Regions from separate parts of the Homo sapiens genome. Here all the other regions are linked to region 4. The links are contacts of gene promoters, found by promoter capture Hi-C in blood cells and fetal thymus (Javierre and others, 2016). All regions are on one chromosome and are shown on one strand. Each heading gives the region's core, a stretch centred on a gene start or on the middle of the fragment in contact. The rest is flanking DNA. Distances are from core to core; before and after follow the strand shown. Region 1 overlaps NHEJ1 (non-homologous end joining factor 1). Region 2 overlaps NHEJ1 (non-homologous end joining factor 1). Region 3 overlaps NHEJ1 (non-homologous end joining factor 1). Region 4 holds the start of RESP18 (regulated endocrine specific protein 18).

Region 1 (2,700 bases), core at 42-2,541, 240 kb after region 4:
CTTAAGTAAAAACGGGTTTTACTGAATAGGCACAGGGAGGTCTCTTGGTACCTAATTTCAGATGGCTACCCATGCCTCACAGAAACTGGACAGGCAGCTTCTTTCTCTGGGATCTCAAGATCTCTTATCTCTGCCCCCCACAGCCAATTTGTTTCTACTCCTGCAGACCATTGACTGGCATGTGGCTTTGGCTCCCCTTACTGCTAACTCTGAACTGGCTCTACGTGGTCTTTCTGATTATGCATCCACTGTTACCCAATGAGAGCCTTTACATCTTTACAGCAGGGGTTTTTACCCTGGGTTCGTGAGTTCAGGGTTTCGTGAATGGAATGAGAGGGAAAGTTGCATCTTTATTTCATTAACCTGTAACTGAAATTTAGCATTTCCTTCAATTGTAAATGTAAGCAAAAGACACTGTATATTAGAAGTATCTGTCACCAGTAGAAATCACAGATACTTTCGTATCATTTTATACTGCTGCAGATATCTTGAAATACAGCTTTTGCTGATTACTACTTGAAATTATGGTTATTAGACTCATTGCTAGATCTCATGATTTAATGTGTTAATAAAGAAGCTCATATGTTATAATATTACAGATTAGTTTTAAAATATTTGAATAACATTTCAGTTAATTGGTTTCCTTTGTAATCCTATAATTTTTTTTTTTTTTTGAGGCAGTGTCTCACTCTGTCACTCAGGCTGGAGTGCAGTGACACAATCACAGCTCACTGCAGCCTTGAACTCCCAGGCTCAAGCAATCCTCCCTTCTTAGCCTCTGAGTAGCTGGGACCATAGGCATGTGCCACTCACTACACCTGGCTAAGTTTTCATTTTTTATAGAGACAGAGTCTTACTATGTTGCCCAGGCTGGTCTGCTCTTCTCTCAAAGCAGACTGTACATAGACCTGTATCATAGAACTGAACATATTTTGCTAAACCCACAATCAGTCATTTATTTCTTTGTACCTAGAATAATCTGGCTCAGAGAGGGTGTCAAGTAAAAAGTTCTTGAATGAATAGGTCTGTTTGCTTATGTGGCTTGAAACTTTGTCCCGGATTCTGCTCTCAGGACATTATCTCCTGCTATTAAGCAAAGATTTATTCATTAATTTTATATACACACATACTTCATATATACACACATACTTCATATATACACATACCCTTGTTCATTTAATAACAAATTTAAAGAAGCTTTTTCAACAATCCTTTGAATTTTGTTATCTCCCAGTCCTGGAAAACAGTGTCCCCTTGGCGTTTCCTCAGAGAGTTTGCAGCAGAATATATTTCCTAGAGTCGAATTCAACATTGCTAGACCTCAGGCTAGCTTAGCAGGAAGTAGCCTTTAGGACGAAGTCAGACTCAATGGTAGAGAAGCTTAGACTGTGGGAAGCAGCCATCTGAGAAATTCAGGGCATAGAATTTGAAAGGCGCTGAGGGCTCAGCACTTCCAGTTCAGTCATTTCATCTCTACAGGACTTAGGGAGACTCTTGCCTCCCTATCCCCATGCCCTACCCCACCCTCCACCCCAGCCAATGTGTTTCTTGCCCGATACCGACCATGCTTGCCCTTAGAATGCTGATAGAAATAGCTTTATAAGGAAAGAACTTGCAGAAATGGCTCTGAGGTTATGCTGTTTACCCTAGCTTAAACTCCACAGGAATCTAGGACTGCGGAAAAAAGAACTGAGAAGTCGCCCAAGTTTCAGCTTCTGGCTTTTTGAACTCAGTGAGAGATTGGCAGCCAAAGGCTCCTATCTAACTGGGCTAGTCCTAAGAGAGTCCTCAGCTGGAATTGGGATAAACCTGCATCCCAAAACTTTTTCCACAGATACAGACTGTAAGCTCTATGAGGGCAGTGGCCATGTCTCTACCCCCAAACTGAATTCCCAGCACATACTTCAGTGCCTGGCACATAGTAGATACTTATATTTGCTAGATGAATGGTCCCTGAACTCTAGGGGCTCACAGCCTAATGGGGAAGACAGGAAATGAGTAAATGAATAACTAAAAAGTATAATCACTTGAGGAAAATGAATAGAGTGCTGTAAAAGCACTTCAGATGATATGGTCAGGAGGCCAGAAGAAGTGACATTTAAACTGAGACTTGAAAGATGAGAAGAAACCAGTCACTTGAAGAGGTTGGGGGACACAGATGGCCCCTTAGTAGTAATTCAGAGGAGAAAGTCTTTATGCCTATCTAGATTTTTGTAGGCTATTTGTGGGAAAAGAAGGGCCTACTGTTGATTCACGGTTAGTCTGTTAACTGCTGTCCCCACCCCATGCTGTTCCTTACATATCCAGCTTTGTTTAGTAAGGCCTCAGACCTAGTGCTGTTGACTGGGAATCAAAGGCTCCCGTGTGTGGCTAGAGGTGAGGAACAATTATTTGTTTATGTGTCTCACTCTTCATCTAGACTATGAGCTCCTTGAGGGCAGTGAACCCTGTCTTATCCTTAGGACACAGCATGCTATAGCATATCCTTGGCAATTTTGTTTAATGATTGAATTAATAATAACAGTTAATATTTATTGAGCCCTTCCTATGTGCCAGGCACTATAGGGAGAACTTTACATGCATGATCTCATTTAATCCTCATAATAACTCCATAGTGCAGGCAGTAATATCATTCCCATTCCACAGCTGAAGAAACTAAGGCTTAGAGATGAAGATGAAGTAGTGGATCAGGGATTTGAG
Region 2 (2,700 bases), core at 9-2,508, 220 kb after region 4:
CCCTGGTGTGTTGTGTTGTGTGTGCTTTCCTTTCCCCTTCTTTCCCACTGACTGTATGTATCTCTCTGTGTGTGTGTGTGTGTGTGTGTGTGTGTGTGTGTCTGTATTCACACTGTAGACTTAATTCTGGTCTTCAGAACCTGCAGCCCACTGGCTTGGCCACACTGTCTCATGAAAGACATTTGGGGCTAAAGGGATCTAGATAAGGGGAGTGGGCCAAGCGTGTGGGATAACTAGATTTTTTCTAGGGGTCAGGGGACAGAGAAGACTGTTTATTAGTATTCTGTAATGCTAATGTCATCACCATATCTTTCCCTTGTAGGAGAGTTTCTAGAATGCAGGATTTGAGAGCTGGTCCCCTCTTTTAAAAGCTGTACCATCCCCCTACTTTGCTTTTTAAGGAGTGTTAACCCCTTATCCAAGAAACCTGGGTTCTAATTTTGTCAGCTGCCTTTTGAGTAAATGAGGAGAATGGGTGAGATAAATCTGGCTTCCACCTTTTAGTAGTCTATGCTTTTATGAATAATAGAGCATTGGTCTGGGTATCACGAGTAAATTCTATTCCAGTTCTAAAATCATCTTTAAAATGATTTTCCCCCCTCTGGTCCTTAGTTAAGGAATATGACCTTTGTTCCTTACAAGGATTTTGTGAGGATGGGTGATGTTTTATTTAAAGGAACTTTGAGCTGTTTCAGTAAAGAGAAATACTTTAAAACTAAGCTCATCTTATCTACCCATGTCCCTTTTCACCAAGCTATTTAAGTTCTTTCTGCTTGCGAGCATGTTCCTGGCTTGGACAGTTCAGTCCAACATGCAGTCAGCCCAGACTCCTCAGAGCCAAAGGATCTGAAATGGAGGAGGAGCGCTGTGATGAACAGTAGCATATGGACTCCATCCACGGTGGCCGCCTCCTTCCTGTTTCTTGAACATCTGAGACCGGTGCCCCACCTCAGGACCTTCTCACTTGCCGTTCCCTCTGCTAAGAATGGTCCTTCCCAGATATCTGCATGATTCATTCCTTCACTTCCTTCAGGTCTTTTTTCAAGTGATACCTTCTAATTGAGGACTTCCCGGCCACCCCATCTAAAATTTCAGCCCCACCTCCACCCCCACCCCACCAGCACTTTCTGTCTCTGTCTCTGCTGTACTTTTCTCCATAGCACTTACCATAACCCAATATACCACACATTTCTACTTTTTTTTTTTTTTGGCAGCATCTCACTCTGTTGCCCAGACTGGAGTGCAATGGTGCAAACACAGCTCACTGCAGCCTCAACCTCCTGGGGTTCAAGCGATCCTCTCACCTTAGCCTCCCGAGTAGTTGGGACTACAGGTGCACCCTACCACACCTGGCTAATTTATATATATATATTTTTTGTAGAGACGGGATTTTTCCATGTTACACAGGCTGGTTTTGAACTCCTGGGCTCAAGCAGTCCTCTTGCCTTGGCATCCCAAAGTGCTGGGATTACAGGGTGCAGTGGGCACCCCTTAGATTCTGCTTTTTAATTACGTTGATTTTACCCCATGTGAAGACATGGATTCTCAATGAGGGCAGGGATTTTTGTCTGTGTGTTCATTGCTGTCTCTCCAGTGTCAATAGAACAATGCTTGGCACATGTAAGCTCTCAAAATGTATTTGTTGAATACATGGAAGGAAGGAAGGGAGGGAAGGAAAAGTAGGCTCTTTAAGCTCATGATTCTTCATAGGGGGTACATACCCAATCGGGGAGATGGTTAGAATTATTTGGAAGCCTTTTCAAACTATTCATACCCTTACCAAAAAATTTTTGATATGCACATATCAAAAAACTATCCACCCCAAGATAGTTAAGGATTATTGCATAATATACTGTCGTTACTGATGAAAATCTGTGGTATGCCTTTTATGTGTTAGGTGGAAAAAGAGAACCACTATCTTAGGCAGTCTGACAGGGCCTGTTTCCTCCTGGCCTGTGAATTGCAGGCAGTCCTGAGGGCTAGGAGGAGATTTGATGTTTTTCTCTCCTTTCTCACCTTTGCCTACCTCATATATACTCCCAACCCACGCCTCCTTGCCCCTCCCCTTTCCTTTATTCTCTGCCAGACACCAGCCCGCCTCCAGCACGCAGAGTCTGCCTGCATTGTGAATGGTTGTAGTTGGGACACAGAGAGCCCTTGATGCAGCAAGTGCTTCTTGTGACATCAGCTCTGTGGCTTTAGGGGGAAGGCTGTGGCTCTGGGTCCCCAAGGGAGGGGGCTGTTTTTCTCTTCTTGATCCTTCACGTTGGTGCCCGTCTGACTTATAAACTTTAATGGCCAGTTTTAAAGGTTACTGCCATGGGGCACCTTTGTTGCCAGTTTTAGTTTTTTAATTTGGAAACTTTTTTTTTATCCTTTGTGGTCTTGGGAGGAAAGATTTGGGACCATTTGGGGCTGGGAATTGGTATTTGTGAGTGATGATGAGATAGCACAGCAGCATTCTGGTTCTGGCTCCAATAACCAGAATCCCTGGCATATTATCCAGTTGCCCAAATGAACCCCAAAATGAGAAGGAAAAGACTGGCATTGAGATGTGTAGTCTTAGGCAGCATCAGTCAAGGATGTAGAGGGTTGGGGGCTTGTTGTTCTGTCTGAGAATGGTAACCATAGTTTAGGTGCTGGGGCACTGGAAAAAGAAAGAGATATCTCACTCTTATTCTAAGTCTCTTAACTCTTCTT
Region 3 (2,700 bases), core at 27-2,526, 190 kb after region 4:
CTTACGAAGCTAGAGCTTATATCGCCTGGGGAAGATGGGCAATGCTTTAACTTGAAAATTGCCATCTTGTTAAGCTTGTTCACACTTCTAATTGGTTTCTTTGGCTGGCTCTCCGTCTTCTGCCTGCCTCTTAAAGGTTAGTGTTTCCCAGGATCAGGTCCCTGATCCTCTGAGACTTCACTTTCCTTCCTCTGGGTCATCTCATCTAGACCCCAGTGTCAACTATTGTTGGTACATCGCTGAATACCAATTTTATATCTCCACTGTGTTTTAGGCCCATATTTCTTTCTGCATGTTTGGCATTTCCACCTGGATGTCCCACATAAAGCACATCCTAAACATGTCCAAAATGAATTATCTACTCCCCCAGACTATTTCTCTTATATTCCTTATCTTGGGGAATTATACCATCATCCATTCAGTTTTCTAAGCTAGAAATTTGGGAGTCACTCACTTTCCTCTTTGTCCTTACTTTCAAAGCCTAATTTATTGACCGTCTTTTGAATCTGCCTATCTTCTCTATTCTACCTCCCGTTGTCTGAAATTAGCCATTTTTCTCTCCCTTTTCCCCCACTCCCCCCCTGCTTTTTTTTTTTGAGACCAAGTCTCACTCTGTTGCCCAGGCTAGAGTGCAGTGGCACAATCTCGGCTCACTGTAACCTCTGCCTCCTGGGTTCAAGAGATTCTCATGCCCCAGCCTCCTGAGTAGCTGGGACTACAGGCTTGAGCCACCACGCCCAGCTAATTTTTGTATTTTTTGTAGAGATGGAGTTTCACCATGTTGGCCAGGCTGGTCTTGAACTCCTGACCTCAGGTGATCCACCTGCCTTGGCCTCCCAAAGTTTTGGGATTACAGGTGTGAGCCACTGTTCCTGGCCTTTCTGTCCCTTTTTTGGCTTGACCATGCAACAGCCTCCTAACTTGTCTCCTGGTCAGTTCTTATTCCCCTGCAGTTGAATTTGTAGTTTTGTCAGAGTGATGTCTTTGAAACTGAAACTTGATTATGACACTTTTTGCTCAGAGTCCTTTAGTGGCTCCCGGTTTCCTACAGGATAAAGTTCAAACTCCTTGCACGCCACACGTGATCATTTATGATTTGATCCTTTTGACATCTTCAGCCTGCTCCTCTGGCATTCCACTATAACATCTTTAAATACCACCTTGTGGATGAATCTCACATTTATTCTTCACTGTAGGTCTTACCCTGAAACTCCAGACTGCTTGTTTAACATTTTCATGAAGAAGTTTAAAAAATATCTTAAATTCAACACGTCCAAAATTGAACTTCCAGTCGTATGCCCAGATTTACTTTTCCAACAACCCCCTCCCATCTAAGTTGATGGAAGGTTCATTCTTTCACTTTTAGTTGGGTGAAAAAACCTTGGAGTCATCCTGACTGCTGTCCTCTCACTTCCTACAGCCAAAGTCCATCAGGAAATCCTGTTGGCTTTACCTTAAAACTATGCCCGTAATCTCACCTCTGCTGCTACCATACTGGAGCCACCATCATCTCCTACCTGCATTATGGCAAAAGCCTCCTTATTTGTATCCTGCAGCTACTCCTACCCCCTCCTGGCCTATTATCAACAAAGCTATCTTATTAAGTTGCAAGGCACATCGTGATATTCTTCTGCTCAAAGCCCTTCACTGGCTTAACACTTCATTTATAGAGTAAAATCCAAAGACTTTACCATGGCCTATAAAACCCTATATGATCTTATAGAACTCTCTTACCTTTCTGACCTCATCTCCTACAACTTCCTCCCTCATTCACTCCACTGCAGCCACACTGGCCTCTTGCTGTTTTTCTAACACTCTTAAGTGTTTTTCTAACACTCTAACACTGCCTTTAGGCCTTTACATTGGCTGTTCCCTCTGCCTGGAATGTTCTTTCTTCAGATATTTGTGTGGCCAACTTCCTCACTTCCTTAAAGTCTGTATTAGTTATCCATTGCTGTGTAACAAATTGTCCCAAAATTTAATGGCTTAAAATAACAGGCTGGGTGCGGTGGCTTACGCCTGTAATCGCAGCACTTTGGGAGGCCAAGGCAGATGGATCATGAGGTCAGGAAATCAAGACCATCCTGGCTAACACGGTGAAACCCTGTCTCTAATAAAAATACAAAAAATTAGCCGGGTGTGGTGGCAGGCGCCTGTAGTCCTAGCTACTTGGGAGGCTGAGGCGGGAGAATGGCGTGAACCTGGGAGGTCTCAGAGCTTGCAGTGAGCCGAGATCGTGCCACTGCACTCCAGTCTGGGCGAAAGAGCGAGACTCTGTCTCAGAAAACAAAAACAAAAACAAAAAACCCCAAAAAACCAAAAACACATTTATTATCTTGCATGGTTTCTGAGGGTCAGGAATCTGGGAGCAGCTTAGTGGGTGTGATTCTGGCTCAGTGTCTCTCATGATGTTGCAGTCAATATGTCAGCTGGTAACGCAGTCATTGTAACATCCGGATAATTCATATCCAAGCTTTCTCATGTGGCTGTTGGCAGGAGGTGCCATTTCTTGCTATGTGGCCTGTCCATAGGGCTACTCACAGGACCTGGTTTCCTCCAGAGCCAGTGATCCAAGAGACAAAGACCAAGGCCAGGTGGGGTGGCTCATGCCTGTAATCCCAGCACTTTTGGAGGCTGAGGCGGGCAGATCACCTGAGGTTAAGAGTTCAAGACCAGCCTGGCCAACATGGTGAAACTTCG
Region 4 (2,700 bases), core at 105-2,604:
TTGCGCAGGGTGAGATTTCAAGGAACCTAGTGAAAAAGTCAAATATCTGAACAGAGATTTTGGCAGCTGTCACAGTGTTAGGGTGACTGAGTTTGGAGTTCAGGACCCGTAAAATAGAGAGTTTTGGTAAATGACTTTGGGTTATGTTGAAATCCAAAAAGGACCACACCTTAGCCATAAGCACCATATCCCAGGACTAAGAGATACAGGCTAGAATTGAGAATAGGATGAAGTACTCCTTCCCTAACCAGACTGCCACAGGATCAAGACTTTTTACCAAAAATTTAATTGCCTGCCAGAACAAACTCAAACTATTACCCTTTAAAGATAATAATATAATTCAGATCCTTTGTAATGTATCAACCCCAAATGTTCACTATACAAACCCTTAGGTTTAAGTAATCCACTATCTCGACCTCCCAAAGTGCTGAGATTACAAGCATGAGCCACCATGCCCAGTTTAATAAATGTTTTAAGCTTAATGAAAAAAAATTTAAATGCCAGTCTAAGAGTTAGAAAGCTCACAAACTAGCTTGTAAGTACACAAGAGTGAAAGCAAGAGGTCAGTTAGCTAGTTAGTTACTACAACAACTCAATTTAAAAGAGTACAGTGTCCAAGGCCTGGCATGGTGGCTCATGCCAGTAATGCCAACACTTTGGGGGGCCAAGGTGGGAGGATTGCTTGAGCCTAGGAGTTTGAGATCAGCCTGGGAAACATGGCAAAACCCTGTCTCTACAAAAATAAATAAATAAATAAATAAAATTGGCTGGGCATGGTAGTGTGCACCTGTAGTCCCAGCTACTCTGGAGCCTGAGGTTGAGTAGAGGTCGAGCGGAGGTTGTGGTGATCTGAAATTGCAAGACTGTCTCAAAAAAAAAAAAAAAAAAAAGTACAGTGTGCAGTGGTTTGGACCAAGGCGATGGCAGTGGATGTGGAGTAAAGTGGATGGATGTGCCATATATAATATATAATATATAATATTATATATATATATATAGCAGATCGAACCTATATGATTTCTAAAGGGTTTTAAGTGGGCCAGAGTAAAGAGTGTCAAGGATAATAAAATAAACTAAATTCCTTGAGTGCCTACTGTTTCATCGCTGTTCATATTTGATTCTCACAACAAACCTGAGTAGGTACAACTTGCACCCGTATCTTACGTGCCATCCGTTTCTGCAGCCTTAGGACTGGGAGTACAGGCGGTGGTTCTTGGGACCCAGCTAATGCCCGAAAGGAGCCGGGTCAGGAATTCCAAGAGATGAGGGTGGGGAGGCGGTAGGGGAAGGAGCTGGGGAGGCGACCGCAGGGGCAGGGCCCGCTCACGATTGGCTGAACTGCCGAGGAGGGTTAAACAGATTCGGAGTCGCGGGCTGGTGGGAAGCTGCAGCCCCGCTCAGCCCCTCGGCCGTGGCCGCTACCTTCACTGAGACTTGGCCGGGGAGTGAGCGCGCCGAGCCTGGGAGGATACAGCACCCACTGTGGCCTGGGAGCTCCGAGGGGCTCCAGCTGCTTGTCTGCTTCCTGCTGCTGAACAGCTGCCCGGGGGGCTGCAGCGACACTAGTGCCCACGGTCAGGAGGAACCCTGGGGGGTGCGGGCAGGGCCAAGAAAGCGATCCTGAGAAGTGGGGGTCTGCAGGGGGCCTCAAGGCTAGGAAACTTGGAAGTAAAAGAATGTGCTTAAGGACGTGAGAAGAGAAAAAGGTAGACAGCGTCTAGCGGAAAGAGGCATAGGCTTCAGATAGGCTGGGCATATGGGGTCTGGACTCACGAGAAGTGGGTTCAGGTGAAAATTGGGGATTTGGGAAGAGGTCAGAAAGACAAATGAACAGAGAGAGGTAAAACTGGCCTATGTGGCCACAGGAGAAGCAAGAAAGGCCAGAAAAAGAGTTGACCAGGGCTGCGGGTATCGGGGTCTTGGCTCCAGGGAGAAGGCTGGGCCAGGAGACGAGCCAGGGCTTCCTCGTGCTGTGATCCGGTTTCCAATAAGGGGACCGCTGAGGGAAAGCAGGATGGAGGGGGAATGGGACCATCCTTCTCCCCTTCCCCCGCACCAATCCGCGTAGACCCCGCGCTGACTCACGTGCCAGACTGCGCACACTCGAGAACTCCTGCGCAGAGCGCATGGGGAAGAGAGCGCAAACTCCTAGTCTGTCGCCCCCTCTCCCTGATTTTTGGTTTTAGAGGCCAATGCAGCGGATTCAGGAACAGCTGTGGGAGGAGGCCTGGTGGCAATGAGAGGATGAGGGCCGTGGGGAAGGACCGCCAAGCCTTGCGGAGATGTCTCGCCCACATTCCGCCCAGCGCCGCCGCCACGCTGGCCTCCCCACCTCTCAGCACCACGGACAGCGCCAGGCGCGCTCCGGGTCCACGCCGAGCCCGAGCGGGTCACCACTCCTTCCCACCAGTCCTGGGAACGCTGCCTCAGAGAATCAGCTCCCCTTCCCGAAGCTCTTTCCCTTCTCCTCAGGGTGTTGGAGGTTCCACTACTTCCTTAAGGAGGCTTTCTCATCCCCAAATGTCTCTACTTAAAACTTTGTCACGCTTACCCCCAGGAAATTATTAGACATCCATTTGACTGGGTAGGAGAATTCCCTTTTCTAAAGACCTGTCCAGAATGGCTCATGGTAACTACACTATAGCAAAAAACAGACTGTCCTCCAGCCCTATCTCACTGATCTGGAAGAAGGAAGGTGTG

The links. Contacts are between HindIII fragments. The CHiCAGO score rates a contact against its expected background, and 5 or more counts as called.
Region 1: a contact is called between a fragment that was not itself captured here and the fragment with the promoter of RESP18 in region 4, in 9 of 17 cell types (erythroblasts, total B cells, naive B cells and 6 more). The highest score is 7.4, in erythroblasts.
Region 2: a fragment that was not itself captured here is called in contact with the fragment with the promoter of RESP18 in region 4 in 4 of 17 cell types (erythroblasts, total B cells, neutrophils and 1 more); the score reaches 7.4 in erythroblasts.
Region 3: a contact is called between a fragment that was not itself captured here and the fragment with the promoter of RESP18 in region 4, in 7 of 17 cell types (activated CD4 T cells, naive CD4 T cells, total B cells and 4 more). The highest score is 6.6, in activated CD4 T cells.

What each region holds. Positions count from the first base shown.
Region 1 is chr2:219,090,268-219,092,967 of GRCh38, reverse strand. All of the region lies in intron 5 of NHEJ1 (non-homologous end joining factor 1), which reads left to right. Among named protein-coding and RNA genes, the nearest start is that of IHH, 31 kb to the right of the region's middle. The HindIII fragment of the contact is 183 bases long and covers 1,200-1,382 here.
Region 2 is chr2:219,109,030-219,111,729 of GRCh38, reverse strand. All of the region lies in intron 5 of NHEJ1 (non-homologous end joining factor 1), which reads left to right. Among named protein-coding and RNA genes, the nearest start is that of IHH, 49 kb to the right of the region's middle. The HindIII fragment of the contact is 3,206 bases long and covers 1-2,700 here.
Region 3 is chr2:219,139,276-219,141,975 of GRCh38, reverse strand. The region is part of intron 5 of NHEJ1 (non-homologous end joining factor 1); the gene reads left to right. Among named protein-coding and RNA genes, the nearest start is that of NHEJ1, 20 kb to the left of the region's middle. The HindIII fragment of the contact is 2,399 bases long and covers 77-2,475 here.
Region 4 is chr2:219,331,398-219,334,097 of GRCh38, reverse strand. It overlaps RESP18 (regulated endocrine specific protein 18), which reads left to right and starts at 1,354. Exons shown (of 6, transcript NM_001441699.1): 1 at 1,354-1,574. The coding sequence starts at 1,469. The HindIII fragment of the contact is 5,862 bases long and covers 480-2,700 here.